Regions from separate parts of the Homo sapiens genome. Here region 1 is linked to region 2. Evidence: promoter capture Hi-C in 16 types of primary human blood cells and fetal thymus (Javierre and others, 2016). All regions are on one chromosome and are shown on one strand. Each heading gives the region's core, a stretch centred on a gene start or on the middle of the fragment in contact. The rest is flanking DNA. Distances are from core to core; before and after follow the strand shown.

Region 1 (7,442 bases), core at 1,986-4,485, 2.9 Mb after region 2:
ATAAATGATTAATCCTTTGAGCAGATTCAAATATTTAGAAATTTTGTCATTTCTTGTAAATGAAATTATTACACACACGTTTGCATAACAGAGAAATATAAAATGAAAAAGCAAATTTATTTTGCCAAAACAAATGCATATTATTGTATATACTTAAAATAAAATAAATATGATACTGGACAAATGTTAATTTGAAACCAAGATGTATCAAAATTTGTTTTAGATATATATGAATTGTAGATATTGTACCTCTCTTCCTTTCAGAAAAAGATTTAGACCTTAAAAGTTCACAAAAATTAGCAGAATATTAAACAGAGGTGATGTTTTATTTTTTCTTCTTTTGTGCACAACAGTAACAAAAAGATGTATATTGAAAAACAGAAATAAAACTTCAGAAGCAGGGAACCATACAAGCAATATAAAAATGGCTGTTCATTACAATGTGAAGAAGAGAATTGATTAAAATGTATTTGGTGTGTAATTGTGGCAAAATTAGTATTTTAACATTGAGTCACTGATCTTTCGCTGATGTCAACAGCACGATGCTCATCCTGAGAGCCCAGTTACCTATACTCCCTGGACTTATCTAGTTAACACTTTCTTTAGTTTAGTAACCTGTCAATGGAGAACAGGTGCTGTTGGCCTATTTTTGCAATAAAAGCAAGAGTATATTGCCCTCTAGTGTTGAAAAAGTTAGGAGACCAAAAGAGTGTTCAGAAATACCCATTAAAAAAATCAAATTTTTTATTTTCTCCTTTCACATAAACGTGATATACCGATAGACAGGTTATTATTTCCTAATTCTAGAAAAAAATATCAAATATAATTAACAAATCTGTTTTATGGCCTGTTATAAAAAAAGGTGACTGGATTGAGAATAAATTATTTCATTTTATTATGTTATCTTTCTGTAATTTAATTAGATCCTTTTTCACTTTAGTTTTGGCTGAGTATTTTACAACTTTAGGAAATATTCATTCCTTATAATAAATTATCTTCTATCATTATTTTGGATTTTTAAAAAATAAAAATTAGGTGTAAATATCATTTTTTAAAAATGTTTTAAAGTCAAGAACATAACTCTGTAGAATAGGTTATTCTATTGGTAGAGGTACTTTATAGGTCCTTTATAGCTGTGTTTTGTGCCTAGTAAAAATATATATTTCCTTCTCTGAAATACAAGAGAAAGGATTGAGTAGTAAAAAATTCATTAGAAAAAGTCTTCTAAAAATAACATAAAAAATTAATGATTGAGGTAGAAATGATATATTTATCATTGTATTTAAAAATAATCAGCTGAGACTTTTAAATAATACTGCAATAATACTGCATGTTACACTTAAAGTTGGTGAAGATGGTAGATCAAATTTTGTGTGCTTACCAAAATATAAAAATAAAATTAATATAAATAAATAGATAAATTCTGTGGGGACATATACCAATATTAATATAATCCAGATTTCTCCAGACCTACATATCCTGTGACTACAAATGGGGTCTGGTTGATAATCAGTAAACTTAGAGATAATTTGGTGCAATTGGTTTTCCAATTTTCAAAACTTTAGGCTTGATTCTGAGATCATTGTTCCAATAAAAAACTATTAAAACATTATAACATTGAACGTCAATTTAACTGACTTACTCAAGATTGTTACTAATCTACTGTGTGTCTAATTTAGTATTGGGTTATGCTTGAAGGAAAATAAACTAAGTAGCTTATTGTGAAAAGAGAAGCTTTTTATATAGATTAGGCTATTGAAAATGTACCCACAGTCTTCTGGGGAAGACACATAAACCAGTTATGTAAAAATGCAAAGGTATTATAAAAAAGATAAGGACAATATATTCTTCAGAGATTTAGAGGAAGAAAGACTACCAGAGACAGGCATGAATAGGAAAGGCTTGTTATTCATAAGATTATAGAATTTTATAGTTTGAAGCAAACTTACAGTTATGAAACTCACCCATTTAAAAGATCCTACATTTTTGTGCTTTTATACAGCTAGTATATGATTCTTGAAAAAAATGAAATAATATAGAAAATACAAAACAGAGACGATCAATATTTTGTTGAGCATCCTTCCAAATCTTCCCTGATGAGTGTATACATGGAAATAGAAATATAAACCATTTTATATCCTTCATTTAGAAAATGAAGAAACTGAAGTTCAGACTCCTTCCATCCACCACCTTTCCCAACAAGTGTCTGGAGAAAAGATCATTTGAGTTGTACCTTGGGGTAGAGAAAGAAGGTGAATATATTCAAGACATAAATATGGTTATTGTTGTTTTGGCATAATTGTTTTGTGCATTAAATAGCAGGAAGTTTACAAAATGCAGAAGATTCAATTCTAAATAAATCACAGTTCCTGCCTTGGTGGAAATCCATGAATAATTACTCATTTAAAATGTCTGTGTTATAGGCTGTACTATGACAGCATTGTGGAGACAGACACACTCACTAAACTAACTTCTGTAATGCCAGGGGTGACTTTTTTGAGGTAGTTTTATCCAAGCTGAATCTTTCTAAAAATGAATAAGAACTGATTAGACTTAAAGATAAAAGAGATAACCTGGGTCATTCCAGAACTGTAAATGGTTCAACACATAAAGTGCAGGAATAACAAGATGAAACAATTTATAAGAGTAAACTCTCAAAAAGCTTGACTCTGAAGCTAAAGAGAAAAATTAGGGCAGTTGCTTGGATTGGGGGCGGGAGTGGGGGTGAGAGTGACAGAAAATGTTATGAACATGGGCATGAGCTAAACTTCTTAACAAAATGATACCTGGAGTCTCCAACTAAAATAAACACAGAACCCAGAAACTAGGAAAGGTGAGGAAGTGGTAGGGACTGAAGCCATTCAGATACCTGAAGATTATAATTACAAATGAAACATTTAGAAGGTGTTTATGGTCTACAGATGAAACATTTAGATGCTGTTTATGGTCAATTACTAACAAAGCATTATACCAGTTTTTTAAAGTCCCTAGAAGAGAGAGGCTGAAGTTCTAGAAAATAGGTGGAGGCAAAAAAAAAAAAATTAACTTTAGAAGAGATATACATTATCTATGGAATCAGGAGGCAGATAAGGACAGTGAGAATTTTTCAGTTTGGGAAACATTAGTGGGAGGGAGTCAGCTTGGCTCCCTGCATAATTTTGAGCCAGTTCAACCTTCACTTTCTGTTTTTTTTGTAAAGTAGAAGATTGTGGAGCTAGGGAGAGGGACCATGTGGCTTAGAAAGTTATTGAAATCATCAAAATAGTATAAGTTGGGGAAATAGAAATAAAATAATGATGTATATTTCAAAGATGTCTCAATCACATTTCCCCTTTTATTATAACTATCATAATCTAAGTGTAAAAATAAGATAAAAATTATATTTTAAACTGTAAAAACACATTATACAGAAAAATATAGAAAGAAATAAGAATTTGTTAATGTTCATTTTATTTTTAATATTATGGGTTTTCAAAATTTATAATACTTTCAAGTATAAAATATACATAAATTTTGTTAAGAAAAAAAGCAGTTGAGTTTCTAAAACATTTTCACATCATCCTTGCTGATAAGTTACAGAAAAAAAGTTTACTTTTGAATGAAAATGGCTAATAATATTACATCTAAACAGGAAAGCATATCATGATATTATATATGATATTATATTTCCTCAGTCATCCTTTGTAGCTTCCATATAAATTGTTTATATGGAGTGAAAAAAAATCAAGATAGGAAATCGCAACATTGTTACATAGATTAGCAGATTAATGCCAACACTTTTCACATGAACTCCATTAGCATAAGCTTAAGTCAGTAACTTTAAAACCATCCACTGTCAAGGAAAAATATAAGAAAAGAAAAAAATTCTAGAGAAGAAGGGGAAATAGGAAAGGGAAGAAACAGAGAACAGATTAAAACAAAATAATTTAGATGTTTTTGCTGGTAATAAGAGAAATACTTGAATTTGCAGATGTACCTGGCAAATAGGCTCTTGATAAATGTTAATACATATATTTGCTGAATGGATGTCAGATAAATGCCTTGGCTTCTTACATAAAAGAGAAAAATAGGAGCAAATCCATGATTGAACTGAATTTTAGATAGCCTGTCTGGTTTCAGTTTGATTATAAATGTCCCATTGTAAATATTACCTCCAAATCTATACAAAATGAGACAGAGTCACAGATTTATCCCAAAGTCATCCTAAGTAAGGTCCTGAGGAAACTTTCTGAATGTCAGAAACCCTGGGGCAGATCTAAGCATTCAAAAATTGTTTAATCCTGTTTAATTCTGGTCCACACATTCTGGGCATTTGATTATTATTTTAGTAGTATAAGGGTAAAATTCAGTGATGAAATCTTAGCTATAAATATAAATACAAAGTTCCAAGCAGTGATTACCAGACCTCTCAACTTGGCCACGGATAGCATTTCTACTACTCTATCTAAATCTTATATGGCAAAGCAGAAGAAATATCCACATAAAAGTTTCTTTATTTGCAAAATCCCCATGTTTTTCTAATAAGCAAGATGAATGCATAGAAATTTGCAGTTGCTTTTAATAAATTAGACTCTTTATTTTTAAAAAATCATGTCCTTTCTTTGCTTTAGAAAATAAGAACTAAGAAAATGGTGAATAGGCACTATACATATTTCTGCAGGAAATGGTGATAAAAGAAACCGCCTGACATTTACTCTTCTATTTACTGAGTTGACTTCATAATCTTTTGAAGTATGAATGTAGCTGATAGCTCAGAGCTATGAACCTAGTATAATATTATGTTACAATATAATATTATGGTAGTAATGTTATCATTATGTTTGAAATGACACTTTTAGGAGTTTGTACTGGTAAAAATGCACACTTTGGGGACTAAAATAAATTTATATTATGTCACTGAAATCAAGAATATATGAAGTGTATGGAAGTTAGGTGATATCAACTGGTTATTTATGGGTATAGAAAAGATCATTTCTGCAGAAAATTATAAACTGGGCATACTACCTCGATTTTGATTAAATATAACAATTACTCATTACTTTGTACCTCTATTTTGAAAAATTTATGATTTATGTAGCAGTGGTTGCTACTGAAAATAATATCATAATATTTTTTGGCCTGGAAGCTGAAAGGAATTCCATGGGACCAACCATGTGATATCAACCATTTCATAGTCTCAACTACTATTTAATCAATATTGGATATTTTCCAAAACCACTCAGAATCATAAGAGACTGCATTGATCTTTAGCTAAAACCTTTATGATATTTATAATTCTTTTAACCAGATTAAATAATTTGAATTAATTGTGCCCTACTGAGTAGTGCTCCTCAAACACTTTTGACCATGACCCAGAATAAGCAATAATCTTACATTGGTATCCAAATACACACACATGCATATACGGACACCATAACATAAAGTTTCATAAAGCACTACTTACCTCTGCTGTACATGAAGTATGACAATATTTCTATTCTGGTCTACTTCATTTTCACTTACTTGTTGGTGACCTGTAATTTGAAAAATACTGCATCTCTCTTGAAAGATGAGGTACTAAGTCATTCTCACACTCTGTGGAGAAATACCCAAGACTGGGTAATTTATAAAGAAAAGAGGTTTAATTGACTCACAGTTCCACATGGCTGGGGAGGCCTCAGGAAACTTAAAATCATGGTAGAAGGCATCTCATTACAGGGTGGCAGGAGAGAGAATGAGTGCTGAGCAAAGGGGGAAAATCACCTTATAAAACAGTCAGATTTTGTGAGAACTCACTCAGTATCATGAGAGCAGCATGGGGGTAACCACCCTCATGATTCAATTACCTTTCACCAGGTCCCTTCTATGACACGTAGGAATTATGAGAACTACAATTCGAGATGAGATTTGGGTGGGAACACAGAGCCAAACCATATTATTATGGCCCTGCCCCTCCCAAATCTCATGTCCTCACATTTTACCCTTCCAACAGTCCTCCAAAGTCTTAACTCATTCCAGCATTAACCCAAAAGTCCAAGTCCAAAGTCTCATATGAGACAAGGCAAGTCCCTTCTGTTTATGAGCCTGTATAATCAAAAGTAAGTTAAGTACTTCCTAGATACAATGGGGGTACAGGCATTGGGTAAATATACCCCTTCCAAATGGGAGACTTTGACCAAAACATAGAGGCTACAGGCCCCACGAAATTCTGAAATCCAATAGGGCAGTCATTAAGCTTAAAGTTCCAAAATTATCTCCTTTGACTCCATGTCTCACATGCAGGTCATGCTGACGCAAGAGGTGGGCTCCCATGGCCTTGGGGAGCTCCACCCCTGTAGCTTTTCAGGGTACAGCCCCCCTCACATCTGCTTTCACAGTTGGTATTCAGTGTCTGTGGCTTTTTCAAGTACATGATGCAAGATGTGGTGAATTTACCATTCTGGGGTCTAGGGGATGCTGGCCCTCTTCTCACTAAGCAGTGCCACAGTAGGGACTGTGGGGGGGGTGGCTACAACCCCACATTTCCCTTCCACACTGTCCTAGAAGAGGTTCTCCATGAAGGCTCTGCCCCTGCATCAAACTTTTGCCTGGACATCCAGACATTTCCATACATCCTCTGAATTATAGGCGGAGGTTCTCAAACTTCAATTCTTGATTTCTGTGTGCCAACAGGCCCAACACCACATGAAAGCCACCAAGGCTTGGGGCTTGCACCCTCTGAAACAACAGTCAGAGCTATATGTTGGCCCCTTTTATCCACAGCTGGAGTAGCCTGAGGCACGGGGCACCAAATCCCAAGCTGCACACAGCAGGGGGGACCCTGGACCTGGTGCATGAATCCATTTTTTCCTCCTAGGCCTCCAGGCCTGTGATGGGAGGGGCTACCATGAAGGTCTCTGACGTGCCCTGAAGATGTTTTCCCCATTGTCTTGGTGATTAACATTCTGCTCCTTGTTACTTATGCAAATTTCTGCAGCAGGCTTGAATTTCTCCCCAGAATATGGGTTTTTCTTTTCTACTGCATCATCGGGCTGCAAATTTTCCAAATTTTCATGCTTCGCTTCCTCTTGAATGCTTTGCCACTTAGAAATTTCTTCCACCAGATACCCTAAATCATCTCTCTCAAGTTCAAAGTTCCACAGCTCTCTAGGGCAGGGCCCAGTCTCTTTGCTAAAGCATAGCAAGAATCCCCTTTATTCCAGTTCCCAACAAGTTCCTCATCAACATCTGAGATCACCTCAGCCTGGACTTCATTGTTCATATTGTTATCAGCATTTTGGTCAAAGCTATTCGACAAATCTCTAGGAAGTTCCAAACTTTATCTTACTTTCCTGTCTTCTTCTGAGCCTTCCAAACTGTTCCAACCTCTGCCTGTTACCCAGTTCCAATGTTGCTTCAACATTTTCAGGGTATTTACAGCAGTGCCTCACTCTCTGAGGTACTTGCTTAGTGTATTAGTCCAT
Region 2 (7,427 bases), core at 4,456-6,955:
TATTTGGCTCCACTAGAATCATGTCACAAGCAAACTTAACCTGTCTAAAACTGAATTTATGATCTTTCCGCTAAAACCATCCTCATGGTCCCACAATCACCTACGTGCATCCTTAACACCTTCTTTTACTTGCAGCAACTAATCTCACCACAAATGTTCTTGGCTCCTTCTACCATTTTCTCAATGCAGCATCAAAGTGGAACTCTGTTACTTCTTTCCAGCTGAGATCCTGTCAATGATTGCTTATTTTACTTGCTGGTTAAAATTCATATTCTTGTACATGTCCCACAAGACCCTGTGTGGTATGCTTCCCACTTTTATCTCTCAGGCCTGGTTAGATGATGCTCTCCCTTCTAAGTTCCAGGCAAGTGGGTCCTCTTTCAGTTCCCAAAAGAGATAATCTCTTTTCTGTCTCAGGGTCTTTCCACATGCTGCTACCTTTGTCTGAAAGTTTTTTCTCCACTTCCCCATCTGGTTTCATCTTCCAAATCCTATGGTTCTAAGTATATATATCCCTGCCTCACAAAAGTCTTCCCTGATCCCCCTTATCTGTCAGGCCTCCCTGTTACACATTCTCACATCACTCTCTACTTTACCTCTGTAGTATGTTCCAAAGTTATAATTAGTTATGTGATTTTCTGTTATAATTAGTTATGCAATTTTTCTCCATAGCTTGGAAGCATCTGTAAGTACTTGTCCTGTTCACTTCTATATTTTTAATGTCTAATAGAGTACTTGAAGTGAGAATAGCCCATTGAATATTTGTTGAATGAGTGAAAAAAGGCCTCTACTAAATTTTACAAATAGCAGCTGGCACTCACAAACTAGGGCAGTATTTAAGTCAAACCATCTTCTATGAACAGCTACCTTCATCAGTCACACTGGCCTCAAACAGTCAAGGCAATAATATAAACATTGTGAATAGCAGTGACCACCTTGATCAGAGCCATAAATCAGGCATATCCAGAATGTGCTTTTCACTGAAATTTACTCAATTACTTATTTTTTCCATTCTGAGATTTTTCAGAATTCAGCATGAATAGAGTTGCTTTGCAATGCATCTGTTTTTAAAAAGACTCCACCAAGCAAATATTAACCATTAATTATTTACCATTAACAAAAGGCAGAAGAAGCAATTAGTTTTTGGAATCACAGACAATTCCATAACATAGTGAAAGAACTCAATATATACAAACATATATTCTGCAAAGTATTGCAATATCTGCAAGGGGAAGTGCCTGCTTGTCAATGTAACCTATCTTTTCTCTTCCACTAACACCCACCATCATCCCAAAGTAAAAATCAATTTCTAAATGAAATAGAATCATGTTAAAGTTGGCAGTACAAGAAAAGTGAAAAAAGATTACCATCTGGAAAATGAGTATTAATAACTAAAGAGCTTCAGGTTCTAACATAAATGAAAGATATTTAAAAGATCCTGACAATATTCCTTTTTCTGAAAAAGGAATGAACTATAAAACTATATTTTATAATGTTGAAAAATGCAGTGGGAGGCCTCAAATATGTTACATGGACTTGCTAAAAGTAATTTAGTAATAATAATAAAAATTGACAAGGGCAAGCTTTTCTTTGGGAAAGAATGTGTGAAATTGTGTCATGTTAATTAAACCCTGCTGTGGTAGGCAAGTAAGAAGCTGATTTACATGGAGTATGACCAAGAATACACTCTGTCTCTAGAACTGCAATTTTTAAAAGATGGATGGGAGAAAAGCTGCACTTGAGGGCATTAGCTTTGTTTGGTACATTAAATGGAAAATGACTTTCTATTATCATTCTCCCTCCATCTTTGTATTAGAAATTATGAAGAGAAGAATATGTTTTATTCACCTCCCTCAGTGTTATGCCATCCAGTGATGCAAGAGAAGAAAACTACCCCACTGCTGTTTGCTGTTTATTCTGCCCTATATGACTTAAGGGGGAAAATGTCTGCCTTTACCCTCTAAGATTGGACCAGAATGCATGCATCAAAATACGCTGACATATTCTGTCACACATGCTCACATATGACATATGTGAGTGCTGACAATGCAGCTTTTAGGGTCTAATCCAAACCTTTTCTTTGTCCTTCATTAGACTCATGGGAACAAGAGAGTGTTAACCTGGCCTCTCATTGGTTGCCTGGACCATTAGATGTAAAGTTACAGATCAGTGTTGGCTATGTTTTAGGGCAGGTTACATGAACCAGATAAGGAAAGACAGCCAATCTGCAGAGAGAAGATGATGCAAAAAGAGTAGAAACGAATAATGAAAAAATATGATATAGGGAGTCTTGAGGAGGTTGAAGGTTCTATTACTCTCTATTCTATGGACACATCAATAAAGGCGTCAGGTAAATTATTCTTCTGTTACCTTGGGCACATTTTAGAACAAGTGAGACTCAACCTAACAGCAGTAGCAAAAGAGGAGAAAGAAATCACCTGAACTAGACTGTATATACTTAGCTAGGGAAGGCACCACATTTAATTGTCCTGTGGACTCCTTTATGCCTGGTGCAAAAGTAGATGCTTAGTAAATACCTCCTGGGTGAATGAATGAGTATTTCATATGTAAGGGAAGTGATGGAAATTGTTGGAGTGGTATATGGATTACCTCTGTTCCATCAAGAGGCATATCAAGAACAAATATTTGAAACCTATAGAGAGACAATGTAGTATAACGGTTAAAGGAATGTGTGCTGGAGCCGGACTCAAACTGCATACCAGCTTCAGCACTTGCCAGGGATGTGATCTTAGGCAGGTAGGTAACCGCTCAGTGCCTCAATTTCCTCATTTGTGAAACAGGAATAATATTTACCTTAAATAATCTTTGTGAAGATTATATGAGCTAAAAATTAATATGTAAAGTAGAACAGTGCCTGGTACAAGGTAACTATTCTATGAGTAAAAACTGTAACATCTCTACTTAGCAGAAATCTAGACAATAGTACTTATCACCAAGTTAAATTTTGTATTATTCACTGATGTTTTCTCATCTATCTTCGTCCTGGCCTCCAGATCAATTTCTAAAATGTTGAACAAACAGGATAAAAAAGGGTCTCTGGAATCCTCATTTTTCAGGTGAAGAAACCAAGCCCCAGAGCCAGCAAGGGAGCTGTTCAAGGCCACTCCTGTCTTGGCAGAGCCAGTCCTAGAATTTAGGTCTACTTTCATGTTATTTTCAAATATTTTAATGAAAAAAAAAATTCAGCAATGAAACACATGTAAAATGGATACCCATAATTGAGATGCTTAAAGGTTTTAGGATAGGACTGCAATAATTGATTTTTAAGCTCTTATTTGGCAACAGGTAATCAAGAATTATAGCCCTCAGTAATTTGTAGAAGATTTGGGGAAATAATTTCTTATAGACATTAATTAATTGTAGTAGGTCCTGACTACTTTTTTTTTCTTGTCCTGTAACTTACATGAAATCGATGAAAATGTTTAGAGTAACATGAAAGAATAAATCACTCACTGTGATATCCAGGTATCTAAGAGTATAGTTTTTTACTATAAACAAACAGACAAACCAAGAAATATTAAAATCACCCCTTTACGAGAAACTTCAGTCATGAAATAGTTTTGAGGATTGTTCAGACTAATTATCTTTATAATGTAGGTCGTTACTTTTGTGGCCTGGCAGCATTCCTAATCTGGACAGGTGTTCAGAGTTCATGCATTTCAGTGTGAATGCTCATTTATAATAGACACAGCACAGGGAAAGTAAACTTCTACTGTTTTCCCTTACTGTCAGAACTGTTAAGCAATTAGAAATTCAAGGCATTCATTTAGTTGAGAATAGTGTTTTTATCCTTAATTCAATTTCCCTGATTTTATAGTGTATATAAATCACAAAGTATTTACATATAGTTTAAAAAAATATATTTTGCATCTTAACAAATGCACTTTTAAGGCTCTAATCACCAAAAAGCAGCTGAAACTCAATCAGGTTTCAAGGAAGTCATATAATCAGAGTCCCAAGATTAAAAGAAAAAAAATTGTAATTTCTTTACAGTTTTAAAATTTTGAAATGACAGGTAGACAATTACATATTTACATTTTAGCTTATAATAACTTCTTTAGCAGAATATATGGTTTAGAAAAAGAATCTCCAATGCCTGATTATCTCTTCTACTATATATTTTTTAACAAACTTTTCAGTTACACCAAAAATTAATATTTGCCTCAATGTTCAGAAATAATGCTTTTCTCAAGAAAATTAATTTAAAAAGAGGGTATATATAACTCCACCAAACTAAACTATAACAAATATCTCCAGAAAGAGATAAAAGTTTTATTTTATCTAAAACATTTTAGTAATGTAAGAATTCTTCATTTTAAAGACTATGAAGAAAATTAACTCATGTGACAAGCTCAAAATTAACATTATTTACACAAAGAAACAAATCTTCTGTTTTACCATCAAGATGATAAAGAAAAATGATAACAAAATTAGAAATGGTAGATACTGTGTTAACCAGAGAAAGAAAAAAAAGAGCTTATCTTAGGCAAGCCTCTTTATATGTTCAGTACTATTTTAAAAAGGAGCCTCCTTCAAACTTATATTTGAAATCTCCATCTTAAATATAATATTGATAGGAAGGTATGGATGAAGAAAAAGGGAAAAAAATTCCCTTCAGCTGAATATCGGATATTCTAGAGTTTCTCTGCCATATCATCCTGCTCTCTGGTGGTGAACAGCATTGCTCAGTAGTTGATAACATGAAATTTTCTAAGGGCAAAAAAAAAAAACAAAAAAAAAGTGTGTGTCCCAGATCAGTTGCACACATCTCAATATTTGATTTGTATTTTAATTTAATACAAATGTATTAAGAATGTAGCTGTTTGCATTGTCTAGAAGGGTTTTCTTCTAAACTCTTCCAGATTACATGTTGCTATATTTCAATATGTTTATAAAGAATATAGATACTAATACATTTTCGACATTAAATAACTCTGATGCTTAAACAGTATCCAGCTATTAGAAAAACTATTTGAAAAAGGATCTGAGTAAACCCCTTAAAGATGTAACTTTGCTTTTACCTGCCCCCACAAAATGGATATATTAAATAGAAGATATATCTGTTTTCTTTAAATTTAAAGTTTCTGTATTTGATACCTAGATTGATTCTTTCCATTTCCATTTAATTTTATTAATTGTATAGTTTTAAATAATGTCTATAAACTGCATCAAATAGAAAGCCTTTTGAGGATCATTACTGTGTAGATAGGCAGGTAGTTTAAAGTCTCTGATATTCCTTACAAAATTCTGTCAAGGCAACAGACATGTGTTCTGTTAAACAGATCTACTTCAGAATCATTATAAGTTGGTGAATATCTTAAACAATTACAAGAGGTCATTTCTTTAGTACCATAATCTTATGAAAGGGAAGCTTTAAAATCATCCCTGAATGAGACGGTCCTTTGTTTCACTTAATTTAATCAAAATACTCTATATTTCTTCTTCAAGAATAAAATGAAGCACTTGTTCAATCTTGAAATTTTTAGATTATTTGAAAGCAAAGTTGTTATCTCTTAAAAGCCCCTACATTTATGAGTGAGGCATTAATGCACAGTATAAATAAATAAATACACTTACCTGGAATTAAAGTTCAGAGCTGAAAATGCTTGAGAAAGTTGCAATAGATGGAAAAGAAACGGAAACAGTACCACTCGTTACCATCGGCTCAGGCTTTTTGACTTTACAAGTGGTAGCAACACCAGTCCTGGCCCAGTACTCTCATGTTATGTAACATCTTATTAATATTAGCCATCAAACTGCTACCAAGCTGGTGAGGCACTAGAGGGCAAGAGTGTCACATGCAAGACCCGTCGCCAAGGGACCGGCTTTGGTACCACTTCGGGGGAAGACAGATGCTAACTAAGCTGATGAATAACAGGATGCCCGAATACAACAGCAAACTTGTAACGTTCCTCAAAGAATATTTTACATGTCAATTTTCTGACTAGCGGAAGAGTTAACAGGTTAATAAATATGAGCAAGCAAATAACCACACCATGAAAAACTTTTAGGATTATATTTACAAACCCACAGTCACTCAAGAGGCTGTTTGTTTTTTTCTTTCCATTGTCTAAATAAACTTATTTAAAACAGGAGAAAAAAGCTGGTTAAATAAAACGAGTGTCGGTTTCAGGACTCCCTCATTCCAAGCCGCGAGAAACTTGTCTGGTCGAGATGCCGCCTCTGGAGTCCGCATTCCAAGGCGCCCGGATCGGGTTTCTGGGCGAGGAGACCGGCCCCGTCCTCCATGGAGATTACCTGGGGCTGCAGCCGTCCGCGGGCTCCTCCTTCCCTCGGGTCTTCGGCCTCAGCCGCTCCCCAGGGCCCCTCGTCCGGGTGGCGCTTGGGTGCTACGCGGTGCCCGGGGTCCGGCGGGGGCGACAAGCGGGCGACCTCTCCCCTCCGCGCCCGGGATCTGCGCGGACACAGCTGGTGGCGACTTCGGCCGCTCAGGCTGCGGCTGCGGGGCGAGCGCAGCGGGTGCGCCGGGGACTCCTGCGCTGGAGAACCACGGCCCTGGGACCCGCCCGGCCGCGCCTCCGCCGCCCTCGCCACCGCCTCCCGGGCGGGAGCCGCCGCCTCCCAGCTCCCGGCCCGCGCGCGCCCGCCCCGGGGAAGGGGAGGGAGCGGGAGCTGAGGACGGGAGCCGCCTCCATCGACCGGGCTCCCGCCCGGACCGGCCCTGAGGATCTGGCTGCCCGGGCCTCGACAAGGAGACCCCGGGGGTTCCGCCCCGGCCTGCCAGTTCCGACCGCCCCTCCCGGCGGGTTGGCGGCGGCCGCCAAGGATGAAACGTCTTGTGCGGCCAGGGAAAGGGGTGCGAGTCCCCGAGGCGACGCTGGAAGGGTGGGGCGCACCCGCGCGGTCCCTTCCTGTGGTGCTCCTGCCGTTGGCACTGGACCAGGGCGGCTGCGAGGCTGCAAGAGTTTCCTCTGTTCGCCAGTTTTTTTCAAATGCCATGTGTTTCAGCTCCTGAAGACAAGTGGAAGGCCAGCAACTGAAGAGATATTTTGGATTCAAGGTGTGAGGTTACCCTCTCCAGAACTATAGTTTGATTAGAAGTGTGAATCGAATGATATATATTTTTAAAAATTTCATTTGGTTCCACTAACATGTGAATTGTATTAAGTGGGGTCTACTAATGATACTTTGTATTGGCCATTTGTGGTTTTGCTTCCCAGCACTCACTCTTGTTGAAACAGTACTCCTGTTCATTTTGGAAGATCCAACCACTTGATCTCACCCCGCAGCCCATTTGCTTTAGGTGATGTCAGCCGCTGCTGACTCACTGGTAGACCCACAGCTCAGGTCTGGCCAGTGATGGCTTTCTGTCCTGGTAGCATGGGTAGGTATGTAACCCAGGTCTGGCCAATCAGAGAGAAAAACAGAAAAAAACCACCATTCTG

What was found. Contacts are between HindIII fragments. The CHiCAGO score rates a contact against its expected background, and 5 or more counts as called.
Region 1: a fragment that was not itself captured here is called in contact with the fragment with the promoter of NDST3 in region 2 in 1 of 17 cell types (endothelial precursors); the score reaches 5.4 in endothelial precursors.

The regions. Positions count from the first base shown.
Region 1 is chr4:115,083,920-115,091,361 of GRCh38, reverse strand. All of the region lies in intron 1 of NDST4 (N-deacetylase and N-sulfotransferase 4), which reads left to right. Among named protein-coding and RNA genes, the nearest start is that of NDST4, 26 kb to the left of the region's middle. The HindIII fragment of the contact is 1,142 bases long and covers 2,665-3,806 here.
Region 2 is chr4:118,032,764-118,040,190 of GRCh38, reverse strand. It overlaps NDST3 (N-deacetylase and N-sulfotransferase 3), which reads right to left and starts at 5,705. Exons shown (of 14, transcript NM_004784.3): 1 at 5,599-5,705. The HindIII fragment of the contact is 5,573 bases long and covers 5,395-7,427 here.